Linked DNA regions of Homo sapiens: region 1 is linked to region 2. The links are contacts of gene promoters, found by promoter capture Hi-C in human tissues and cell types (Jung and others, 2019). All regions are on one chromosome and are shown on one strand. The core of a region is centred on a gene start or on the middle of the fragment in contact, and the rest is flanking DNA. Distances in the headings are between cores, read along the strand shown. Region 1 overlaps FBXL14 (F-box and leucine rich repeat protein 14). Region 2 holds the start of NINJ2 (ninjurin 2).

Evidence for each region. Contacts are between HindIII fragments. The study calls those that stand out against the background at their distance.
Region 1: a fragment that was not itself captured here is called in contact with the fragment with the promoter of NINJ2 in region 2 in 1 of the 25 tissues and cell types used here (dorsolateral prefrontal cortex).

What each region holds. Positions count from the first base shown.
Region 1 is chr12:1,564,709-1,570,406 of GRCh38, reverse strand. It overlaps FBXL14 (F-box and leucine rich repeat protein 14), which reads left to right. Exons shown (of 2, transcript NM_152441.3): 2 at 3,597-4,414. The coding sequence ends at 3,659. Among named protein-coding and RNA genes, the nearest start is that of FBXL14, 27 kb to the left of the region's middle. The HindIII fragment of the contact is 3,741 bases long and covers 2,083-5,698 here.
Region 2 is chr12:660,710-666,246 of GRCh38, reverse strand. It overlaps NINJ2 (ninjurin 2), which reads left to right and starts at 2,802. Exons shown (of 4, transcript NM_016533.6): 1 at 2,802-2,919. The coding sequence starts at 2,887. The HindIII fragment of the contact is 21,671 bases long and covers 911-5,537 here.

The sequences.
Region 1 (5,698 bases), core at 2,704-5,203, 900 kb before region 2:
AAGGAGATGCCAGAGATGAGTGCTCCCTGTGACAGCCCTCAACCAGGGACAGGCAGGAGCCGTTGTATAAGGACACATGTTGTACCCCGGCTGACTTCCCCAGCAGGTTTGGCCCCAGTGGCCACGTCCATCACCGGTGTGATAACCCACTCTTGATTGGCTGTCTTCCCTTCCTTGTCTCACTTTCCCACTCTCTGATCAGTAGCTCCTCATGTCACAAGTAATCTACTGGCCTTTGAGTCACTGCTTCAGGGTGGGCTTCTGGAGGAACACAAACTAGGACAACAGGTCTAGTGTGGACAGGACACCGCACTAGACAAAGCTGGGCGGAGTTTCGACCAGAGGGGAAAAACCCCTCTTCCATGCAACAACAGCAAAACGTTCTCTTAGGAAGAATCTGAACCTCATAAAAGCCTCCTTCTTGTCTGAAAAGCTTCCTTGCAGAAGGAGCTCAGTGGGCCTGAGGGCAGAAGTGCAGCTCTCGAGGGGGATGCTGGCTCTGCAGTGGGCATGTGGTGCGCCCTGCCCTCCCTTGGCTCTGTGTGAGCCTCCCTTCCTTTGCACAGGGGACTCTGGGTGAGTGGCACAGCCTTCAACAAAAGTGGCTCTGCTCTTTGGCAATAGTCTTTTCTGTGGGACAGCATAAAATGAGCATTAAACAAACTTCGAGGATGAGCTATGCTCAACAGCCATAAAGAACCAAGTGGTGCCGGGAGCGGTGGCTCACGCCTGTAATCCCAGCACTCTGGGAGGCCGAGGCGGGCGGATCACAAGTTCAGGAGATCGAGACCATCCTGGCTAACACGGTGAAACCCCATCTCTACTAAAAACACAAAAAATTAGCCGGGCGTGGTGGCGGGCGCCTGTAATCCCAGCTACTCAGGAGGCTGAGGCAGGAGAATGGCGTGAACCCGGGAAGCGGAGCTTGCAGTGAGCCGAGATTGCGGCACTGCACTCTAGCCTGGGTGACAGAGCGAGACTCCGTCTCAGACAAAAAAAAAAAAAAAAAGAACGAAGTGGTTTCTTATTTAGCATATGAGAGCGTGGGGTTGAAGAGGGAAGAAGGAAGAGGAGAAGCCTGGTGAAAAGGAGAGGGAATGGGAAGGAGAGGGAGAGAGAGAGAGAGAATTAGAAAACATCAGAAATTAAGTGGATAAAATAAATGACCACTTCACAAACAACCACTACCTTTCCTCAACCTGGAAAGGAAAATGAAAAGGAGAAAAAAGAGAAGCAAAACAAGCATTGATTATATAAATTTGCATGTACAGAGATAAAGGTGCACCAGCTTTTCCTTTTTGTTCTGTAAAAGCTTCAATATATTCTTTATATCTCAATCCTATGAAAATACTTGTGAGATTATAATTATGCTTATATTATTAAAGATAATTATTCTGGGTTATTCTCCATGTCTCAGGACTGTGCCTTTTGCTGGTCAGCCTAAAGTGACCTGACAGAAGCACAATTTATATCTGAAGTGGGTTTTTTGTAGACAACACAGAGCTGGGTCTTATTTTTTGACCCACTATGACAATCTTTTTTTGTTTTTTGAGATGGAGTCTCTGTCACCCAGGCTGGAGGGCAATGGCGTGATCTCGGCTCACTGCAACCTCCACCTCCTGGGTTCAAGTGATTCTCTTGCCTCAGCCTCGCGAGTAGCTGGGATTACAGGCGCCCGCCACCACGCCAGGCTAATTTTTGTATTTTTAGTAGAGGGGGGTTTCACAGGTAGTATGAGTTTCTTATAACAACACCATAATCCTAATTCCTCCCCTCATCCCTTGTAATATTGTTGTCACTCATTTCCCTTACACATAAGTATATATCTAAGGGTACATAATTGAATACATTGTTGTTATTACTTTGAACAGTTATCTGTTAGATTAAGAATAAGAAAAATAAGTTATTATTTTGCTTTCACTTATTCCTTCTCTGCCCTCTTTATGTAGATCTAAGTTTCTGACCTATAGCATTTTCTTTCTCTCTAAAGAATTTCTTGTAACATTTCTTGCAAGGCAGATCTACTGGCAACAAATTCCCTGAAGTTTTGTTTGTCTGAAAAAGTCTTTATTCTCCTTTACTTTTAAAGGATAATTGTGCAGGGTTCAGAGTTCTAGGCTGGTGGGTTTTCTCTCTCCACCCTCACATCTCACTCCACTCTCTCCTTGCTCACCTGGTTTCTGAGGATAAGTCAGGTGCATTTCTTCCCTTTGCTCCTCTACAGGTAATGTGTTTTTTTCACTCTGGCCCCTTCCAGGACTTTTTCTTTATCTTTGATTTTCTGCAGTTTGAAAATGATATGCCCAGGTGTAGTTTTTCTGGCATTTGTCCTGATTCTCTGAGATTCCTGGATCTGTGGTTTAGTGTCTGACATTAATTTGGAGAAATCTGTCATTACCATTTCAAGTATTTCTTCTTTCTCCTCCTCCTGGTATTCCCATTACACATGCTACACCTTTTGTAGATGTCCCACAGTTCTTGGATATTCTGTTCTGTGTGTGTGCGCACGTGTGTGCGCGCGTGTGCGTGTGGGTGGGTTTTCTTTTCCCTTTTCACATGTGGAGGTTTCTATTGAGATAACCTTATGCTCAGAGATCCTCTCCTCAGCTGTGTCCAGTCCACAAATCCATCAAAGCCCATCAGCGGCATTCTTCATTTCCGTCACCGTGCTTTGCTCTCTGTCACTTCATTTGGTTTTTTCTTAGATTCCCATCTCCCTGCTTTCATTGCGCACCTGTTCCTGCATGCTGCCTACTTTATCCATTACAGCCCCTCACATTAATCAGAGCTGCTTTCAATTTCCCGCCTGGTAATTCCAGCATCCCTGCTGTCTCTGAGTCTGGTTGTGAAGCTTGCTCTGTCCCTTCAACATGTGTTATTTGATTCTTATTTCATTTTATTATTATTATTATTTTTGAGACAGAGTACCACTCTGTCGCCCAGGCTGCAGTACAGTGGCGCGATCTTGGCTCACTGCAACCTCTGCCTCCCGGTTCAAGCGGTTCTCTTGCCTCAGCCTCCTGAGCAGCTGGGATTACAGGTGCTTGCCACCACGCCCAGCTAATTTTTCTTTTCTTTCTTTTCCTTTTTTTTAATTTTTATTTTTAGTAGAGATGGGGTTTTGCCATATTGGCCAGGCTGGTCTCGAACTCCTGACCTCAGGTGATCCGCCCGCTTCGACCTCCCAAAGTGCTGGGATTACAGGCGTCAGCCACCGTGCCAGGCCCTATTTGCCCTTTAGTATGTCTTATATCTTTTTCTTGATAGTGGCTGTGACCGGGTAAAGGCAGCTGCTGTAAAGAGGCCGTGAGTGTGCGGTGGGAAGGTCTACTCTATAGTCTACAATCAGGCCTCAGAGTTTTGGTGAGCTTGCACCCCTCAGCTGAACATTCACAAATGAGTCTCCGTCCTCCCTCCCGCCCCCACCTTAAGTGAGCCGGGAGATGGCTAGAGTGGGCTGGCGTGGGAGTTTCCCTTCCCCCAGGTCAGTTAGGCGCTGATAAAGCCGCGGTGGGGTTAGGGGAGGCGACCTCGTTAGGAAGAGCAGAGTGCGGCAGTCTCTTTCAAAATGGTCCTTTTTCTTCTTCCCACTGCAGGAGGCACGAGGGGATTTTTCTCCATTATTCACTGTGAGAACTCGGGGAAGCTCCAGAAGGTGAGGGAGAGGGGACAACGACATGGTTCCCGTGGATCTTTAACTTCCAGACTTGCCCGCTCTGCGCCTCCGGCACTCTGGTGATGACAGCTCAGGTTTCCCTGCCTGTCACTGCTCGGGCAGAGGCTGCTGCCCAGGGCTTCTGCTCCGGTACCTTGTGAAGCTGCATTCTCCTGCCGGTTTCTCCAGTTCTGGGGACAGTGGTTTGCTCTGAGACCTCGCTTCCTTTATGGATCCAAGGAGACTTGCTTTTTCAGTCTGTTCAGCTTTTTACTTGCTAGGATGGAATTGCAATTTGCAAGCTTCTTCGACAGGAAACTACAAGTTCCACACTTTAATTTTATACATATAAATATATACATGTGTACATATATCTATGTACAGGGGTATTATATATATACATATAAGATGATGATATATATAATGATGATATGTATTACTGAGAACGTAAAATATCATTACATAGTGATAGCTGGACACACAAGGAATTCACAACTCCCCAAAGAAAATACATCTGGATGACCTGCCTAGCAGTTTCCCCATGAGATAGAGGAATGTCTACGTATTTCATTCCCTGTTCCTGCCCTGAAACAATTTCAATCACTGACAAATCATTATCATTCATTAATAATGTTTACTGAGTGCCCATATGTGAAAGAAATCCACTCTACATTCCACAGATGCATTTCCTCTCCCCACGGGGTTTCCATTTTAATGGGAACAATGTAGAATATATCTGTCTTCCCTTTATAGATTCCATTTGGGTTTTTTGTTGTTGTTTCTTGTTCTCTCTCTCTCTCTCTGGTCCAGAGGAATAATTTCCTGGTTTTGTAAACTAAACCGGATCATGTCACTTCCATGAATCAGGGAATACTTAATGAAGGAGTAAGGATTTACAGAGGACTGGGGATAAGAGATGGAGGGAAGCTGAACAGAAGGCAAATGAAACTGGTTGAGCCTCTTCAGAACACACAACAATTCCTGGTGGTGAGTCAGTGTGGATGGGGGAATGGGACACCTTACATGGGGATCAATGAAGAATCACTGGGGTCAAAAAGAGCACATGTCAAGAAGATGTCAAACTGATGACAAGCAAATATTGCCCCAGTATTACAATTCCTGTTGCCCCATCTCAAAATTACCCTGTCAGTTTGATGGGATGAAACTCTCAGACCCCGTTTCATACCACAGACACTGAATCCCTATTCCACAGCTTAGGAAGTCCGAAGAAGTAGACGGTATGTGTGTCTTCCAAAGCTGTCTACCAGAGATGATCAAGGTGTTGGAGAACTTTTGTCTCTCTTAATTGTTCTGGTAACTGCTGTGTACAACGAGGCTAAACACTCACTGATAAGAATTCTCTCCCTGCTGCCCCAATGCAACTTCTAGATTGTACACTAGTACAAGAGTCCTAACGCAGTAACTTGCCTACACGCAGAAACTGGCTGACCTGGGCTTTGGGTGTAGGAACCCTTCCTAAAAACATGAGTATCATCCAGGAGTCTAAACAATTTGATGGGTAGACCTTATATTGAATTACAAAGGTTTAGGAGTAGGAATTAGCTAGTCCAGTGGTTTTTTAAAAAAAATGTTTTTAAAGAAGGAGAACTCTATTTTTCCACTAAAATCATATGTTGAAGCAAAACAAATAACATTTATGTAGTTGAAAATTGGGTAGGAGAGGAGATCTCCACTGGCCCCTAAGTAAGAACTGTCTCAAAGTTCTGTCTCGAAAACCACTTATCTAGCCCAATTCCTCAATTTTTATTGTTTTTTGTTTGTTTTTATTTGTATTATTTATTTATTTATTTTTGAGACGGAATTTGACTCTTGTCACCCAGCCTGGAGTGCAGTGGCACAATCCCCGCTCACTGCAACCTCCACCTTCTGGGTTCAAGTGATTCTCGTGCCTCAGCATCCTGTGTAGCTGGGATTATAGGCACACGCCACCCCATCCGGCTAATTTTTGTATTTTTAGTAGAGACAGGGTTTCGCCCTGTTGGCCAAGCTGGTCTCCAACTCCTGACCTCAGGTGATCCACCC
Region 2 (5,537 bases), core at 1,553-4,052:
ATTATTATAACCAATTACAGCTGTTTCCTTTTCAAACCAATGTGCTTATTAATAGGAAATTTTTTGAAATATATTCGAGTACTTTTCTCTTTTGCATTTTTTTGTTCCTGTTTCCCTCTATTCAGCCAGATGTATCCATATTATTTAAAAGATAATGAGGATTTTCACAACAGGAGTGCAAAGAGAAATAAATAGTTAATATTTTGCTTCTGGCATCCGAAATAAGGTTTTCCAGAAAGTTTTTTTTTTTTTTTAAGACATGGTCTTGCTTTGTCAACTCAGGCTGGAGTACAGTGTCATGATCATAGCTCACTGCAGCCTTCAGCTCCCAGGCTCAAGCAATCCTCCCACCTCAGCCTCCCAAGTACCTGGGACTACAGGTGCTGCAAGCTGCCACATCTAGCTAAATTAAAAAAAAATTTTTTTTTTGTAGAGACAGGATCTCACTGTGTTTCCCAGGCTGGTCTTGAACCCCTGGGCTCAAGTGACCTCCTGCCTCTACTTCCCACAATGCTGGGATTACAGGTGTGAGCCACCATGTCCAGCCAAAAAGTTCTTCTACAGATGGGATCTCACTATGTTGCTCAAGCTGGTCTTGAACTCCTGGGCTCAAGAGATCCTCCGGCTTTGGCCTCCCGAAGTGCTGGGATCACAGGTATGAGCCATGCTGCCCAGCCAAGACAATATTTTTGACAACCAGGTTTTCTTGAGAGAGAGGATTTTCTAAATTTCTTCATTTCCCTTTGAATTGTTGTCATAGAGTTCTACATCAGATACATCCCAGCCAAACAGGAAAAAAAAAAAAAAAAAGAAGACAAAGCGTACATTTTCTGATTCTAGATTAAGGGGACTATGGGAAGAAGTAATCTCAGCTACTCGGGAGGCTGAGGCAGGAGAATCGTTTGAACCCAGGAGGCAGAAGTTGCAGTGAGCCGAGATGGCGCCACTGCACTCCAGCTTGTGCAACAGAGCGAGACTCCATCTCAAAAAAAAAAAAGTGCTTAGAATAGTGCTTGATACATAGTGGTATTATTATGAGCGGTGGGGTGATAGATATTACTGGTAGACTTTTTAAGGAGTGCTGAGAAGAGTGGGTTCCAGGTCTCATTTCCATTCAGGAATGTGGAAGGAGATCACCTCGCAGACTGCCCTGTGTCAGTTGGAGCAGCCACATCAGAGCAAACTCTGCTGGAAGTGGGGCTGAGCTTGCCTTTCCCCTGCCCTTCGTCAGCAGCCCTCAGTCCCCATGTGCCTAAGGGGGCTCAGGAGCACTGGTCAAGCATCTCACAGGAAAATTTCGAGGGGCTTATCTTAGAGATGTGGGCCACTGAGCGGATACAGTGGGATGGGGGCACATACAAGTCAAAGCCAGGTCTCAGGATGGTCCACATTGCCACGAGCCAAGGTAGCGCAGACAGCAAGGGAGAACACTGGATCTCAAAGGCAGAAAGAGAATCACCCATGAGTGACTCTGGCCTAATATCAGACATCAGCCACCAAGGCCAGCAGAAGACCCAGGAGCAGGACCTGTGTCTCCTCAGCAGTCAGCAATTCGGGCGGGCCCGTGGGCCCAGCAGCTCCAGAACAGAAAGGAGCCGAGATGGAGAGGCCACAGGATAGATGCAAGAACCGTCCCCACCCCGCCCTCCTGTGCACCTAGGTGCCATCTTCTGCAAATCCGAAAGACTGAGCATTGTGTCTAAAGTGGACTGTTTACCATTTAAATGATTAAATCCAACTATGCTTCATAGATTAGACTAAAATATGGCCCCCATCCAATCATCCAACCCTCCCTCGCACCACTGTCCAGAGGGATGGGAACTTATAAAGGCATTTCATAGAACTGAAGAAATCGCCTTTTTTTTTTTTTACATTTGAATGTGGTGAGGGTAAACGTGTTGACTCTGCCTGTCTTCCTCCTGCCCGCACCTCTTCAAGCCCTGAATTGGATTACAGGTTAACACCCTGCCATGCACGTCTACAGACATACCCACACCCACACCTGCACAAGCTTGTGTCTAAACCTTGCTTCAGGAACAAGCCAGAAGAGTTTTGGGCTCTAAGGTAAACAGGAGAGGAAAAAAAAAACTTTCTAAAAAAAGACTCCCTCCTGGTAATTTTATTTTAAAAGTAGGGAGAATACCACTGTTTGCATAAACAAGCTTCGAAGGTACAACTACTCCCTGCTCCCTCTATGGCTAATCAAGGGAGGAGTTGAAGGAATCAAACAATCCGTCAGTAAAAACGTATTGTTCACTCACTTTGCAGAACAAAGCCTATGCTTTGGAGCCTATTAGGTAAACTACAATTTTTTTAAAAACTTTTAGGGATATAGGGAACAAAGCAAAGAACAACGGAAATCCCTCTGCCTCAGTATTGAGACTGTGCTGGAGGTCACTCCACCCGTGGCGACTGGGGACTGGACCCAGCGGTGAAGTCAGATAGCGTTGTCCTCAGGCTGTTTTTCAATTTGCTTGATAAACATGCAGGATTTCTTTGCCAGTCATAAAGCTACTAGCTCAAAGCAGGCTGGGTGACCTCAGATGGCTCCGCTGGGACTGGAAGGTCACTGGAGCCACTGGTGAAAATGATGCTGTCACTACCAACTCAAAAGGTCACCTATCAGTGTGCCATGTGCCACCTCCTGGAGCACACACATGTGCACACACATACACTCACACGTGTGTGCAGGTGCACACCTCCCCCAGAGGCTGCAGCCAAGACGGGCATCCCACATCAGAGGGATGAATGGCAGGTCTGTCCCGCCAGCTGTGTGCTCTCTCCCACCCGAAGAAAGCAGCAGAGACTCAGACGGCGGAGCCTGGAGGAGCCCACGCAGTCTGTTCCCGGCACCCGGTGCGTGTGAAGGGACTTGAGGGCAGCGAGATGGAATCAGCAAGAGAAAACATCGACCTTCAAGTAAGTTCTCTCTGGAAGAGAGCAGAGGGGAGACCGGGAGTAGAGGTGAAGCTGGAAGAACAGAGGATTGATACTTTAGTCACTTGATATTCTCCCTCCCCGTTCTCTTCTTACTCACTCCCTTCTCCAAATGCTCCCTAGGCTTTGTCTCTTTATTTTCTCTTTCTCTCTGTTTCCCTATCTGGTTCTTCACTTGTTTTGAAATATCTGAAAAACAGATTGGTTAACTCCCTTTTGGCCTCTGCTTCCTCTTGTCAGTCAAAGAGCTAATTAGATCCGTATTACCAGAAAATGATTTCACATTCTGAGCAGTGCTTTCCCCAAACCCCAGGACAGTAGAGACTTCTCTTAGAGCTGCCGGGGAGACAGGAAATATATGAGTTTTGAGGCTAGGAAGAGAGGCAGCTGGCCAACTTTGCATTTTACAGGTTGGAAAAAACTTGAGCCGTTTCTCGGCTGTCTTCACAAAGCTCTACTGTGTAGGACAGAAAGCGTCTCATTTGGACAGTGCAAGGAAAGGAAATCAGTCTAATCTCCTAGGAAGAGGCAGAGATGTGTGTCCCTCTGTAGCTGGGATGGGCTTGGAAGGCATCAGAGGTTCCAGTCCACTGCTGGAGGGGAAAGGGTGGGATGTTACGGTGAGAGGAGAGCCAGATTGCTGGGAGCTGCACTCTGTGACTCCTTGCCAATGGATAGAATAGAACGAACCCTTCTATGACCACTGCTGAGGCTGTGTAACATTGCAGAGAATCAAACAAAGTGTGGAAAAGGACTTTTGAGATCAAGAATTTCTGATCCCTGAACCTGGTCCTCGAACAAAATCTTAAGCAGCCACCCAATATACACTTCGGATTAAAGAAGAGCTGTTTTGTTGAAGCAGAGTATGTGCACGCGTCTCTCTCTCTCTCTCTCTCTCTCGTTCTCTGTGTGTGTTTTGGGCAGGGTGGCGTGAGTCTGGCAGAGTCTCTGTCCTTGGCCCCTCCGCCCTTGAGACACCACCAGGGAACTGTAGGACTGCTTGGTGTGCTGTGTCAAAACCATTCACCTAGTACAACTGCATACCCAGTGCTGTTTTCCTGGATTGGCAGCCAGCCCCGAGAGCGGTCCCACCGCAAGGCTTGCTTGTCCCTCTGTCTGGAACCTTCTTTCCCTGGCTTATCTCCTGGCTGGCCCTTCCTAGTACATTCAGGTCTCAGCTCAAATGTTACTTCCCCCAGGAGCCCTCCCCTGACCAACCTCTTCACAGGATGCCTCCTCCCCAATTTGTCTTTATCATTTGTTTAATTTCTTTCATAGCACTGCTCACCACCTAAAGTTACACTGCTTATTTATTTAGTATGTATTGCCTGTCACTCTCACTAGGACACAAGATCTCTGAGGGCAGGGCCTCTCCTGTTTTATTCACTGCTGCAGCCCGAGTGCATGAGGCAACTCTTGGTACACGGTCATTGCTTTAGAAAACATTTGTTAAATGAATGAGTTGAGGAAGCCATGAGTTGGAGAGGCTCTGAGATAGGAATAAGGTCACCTAATTGGCCCAAGACCTCCAGTCCATGTCTTCTGTCCCTAGTATGTGTTTTCTTCTTACTTCTAGTTCTTGCCTCTATAAGATCCTTGGTTGTTAAGGAAATTGTGTTGCTGCTTATTTTCATTCTCAGAAGAGCAAGTTTCTTATGTGCTGATGGGTTGAACGATCCAGAGTTACAGGCTAAGGACTCTGCATCTGAACCAGAGGTTCAGAAGGAAAGAGGTGGTGGGAGGAAGGAGAAGGAAATGACTGGCTAGGCTGGATGAATGTCTCTCTCTAGCAGGTAACTGAGGTGTTAGTGTACCTTTCTCTTCATTTGTCATTCACTCTCTTCTAATATGCTATTTAATTCTTGTATCTTACATTTTCCTTTGCTCAGAAGGTTATCCATTATTTTCTACAATTTATTGTCCACCTTTGGCTGGGCACGGTGGCCTACGCCTGTAATCCTAGCATTTTGGAGGCTGAGGCAGGAGGATCACTTGAGCTCAAGAGCTAGAGATCAGCCTGGGCAACATAGCAAGACCCTATCTCTATTAAAAATTTAAAAGTAATTAGCTAGGCATGGTGGCATGCACCTGTAGTCCCCACTACTCGGGAGGCTGAGGTGGGAGGATTGTTTGAAGCCAGGAGTTCAAGGTTGCAGTGAGCTACAATCATGCCATTGCACTCCAGCCTGGGCGGCAGAGCCAGACCCTATCTCTAAAAACAAAACAATAACACTCTTTAGTTAAAACAATGTTTCCCCAAAATGTGGTACAATTATCACCAATGGGTGGTAAAGGTACATCAATGGCTGACAGCTTTTTATTATAATGTTTATTTTTACAGTTTTTTTTGAGATGGAGTCTCACTCTGTCGCCTAGGGTGGAGTGTAGTGGCAAAATCTCAGCTCACTGCAACCTCCGCCTCCTGGGTTCAAGTGATTCTCCTGCCTCAGCTTCCCAAGTAGCTGGGATTATAGGCATGTACCACCACACTTGGCTAATTTTCATATTTTTAGTAGAGACAGGGTTTCATCATATTGGCCAGGCTAGTCTTGCACTCCTGACCTCAAATGATCCACAAGCCTCGGCCTCCCAAAGTGCTG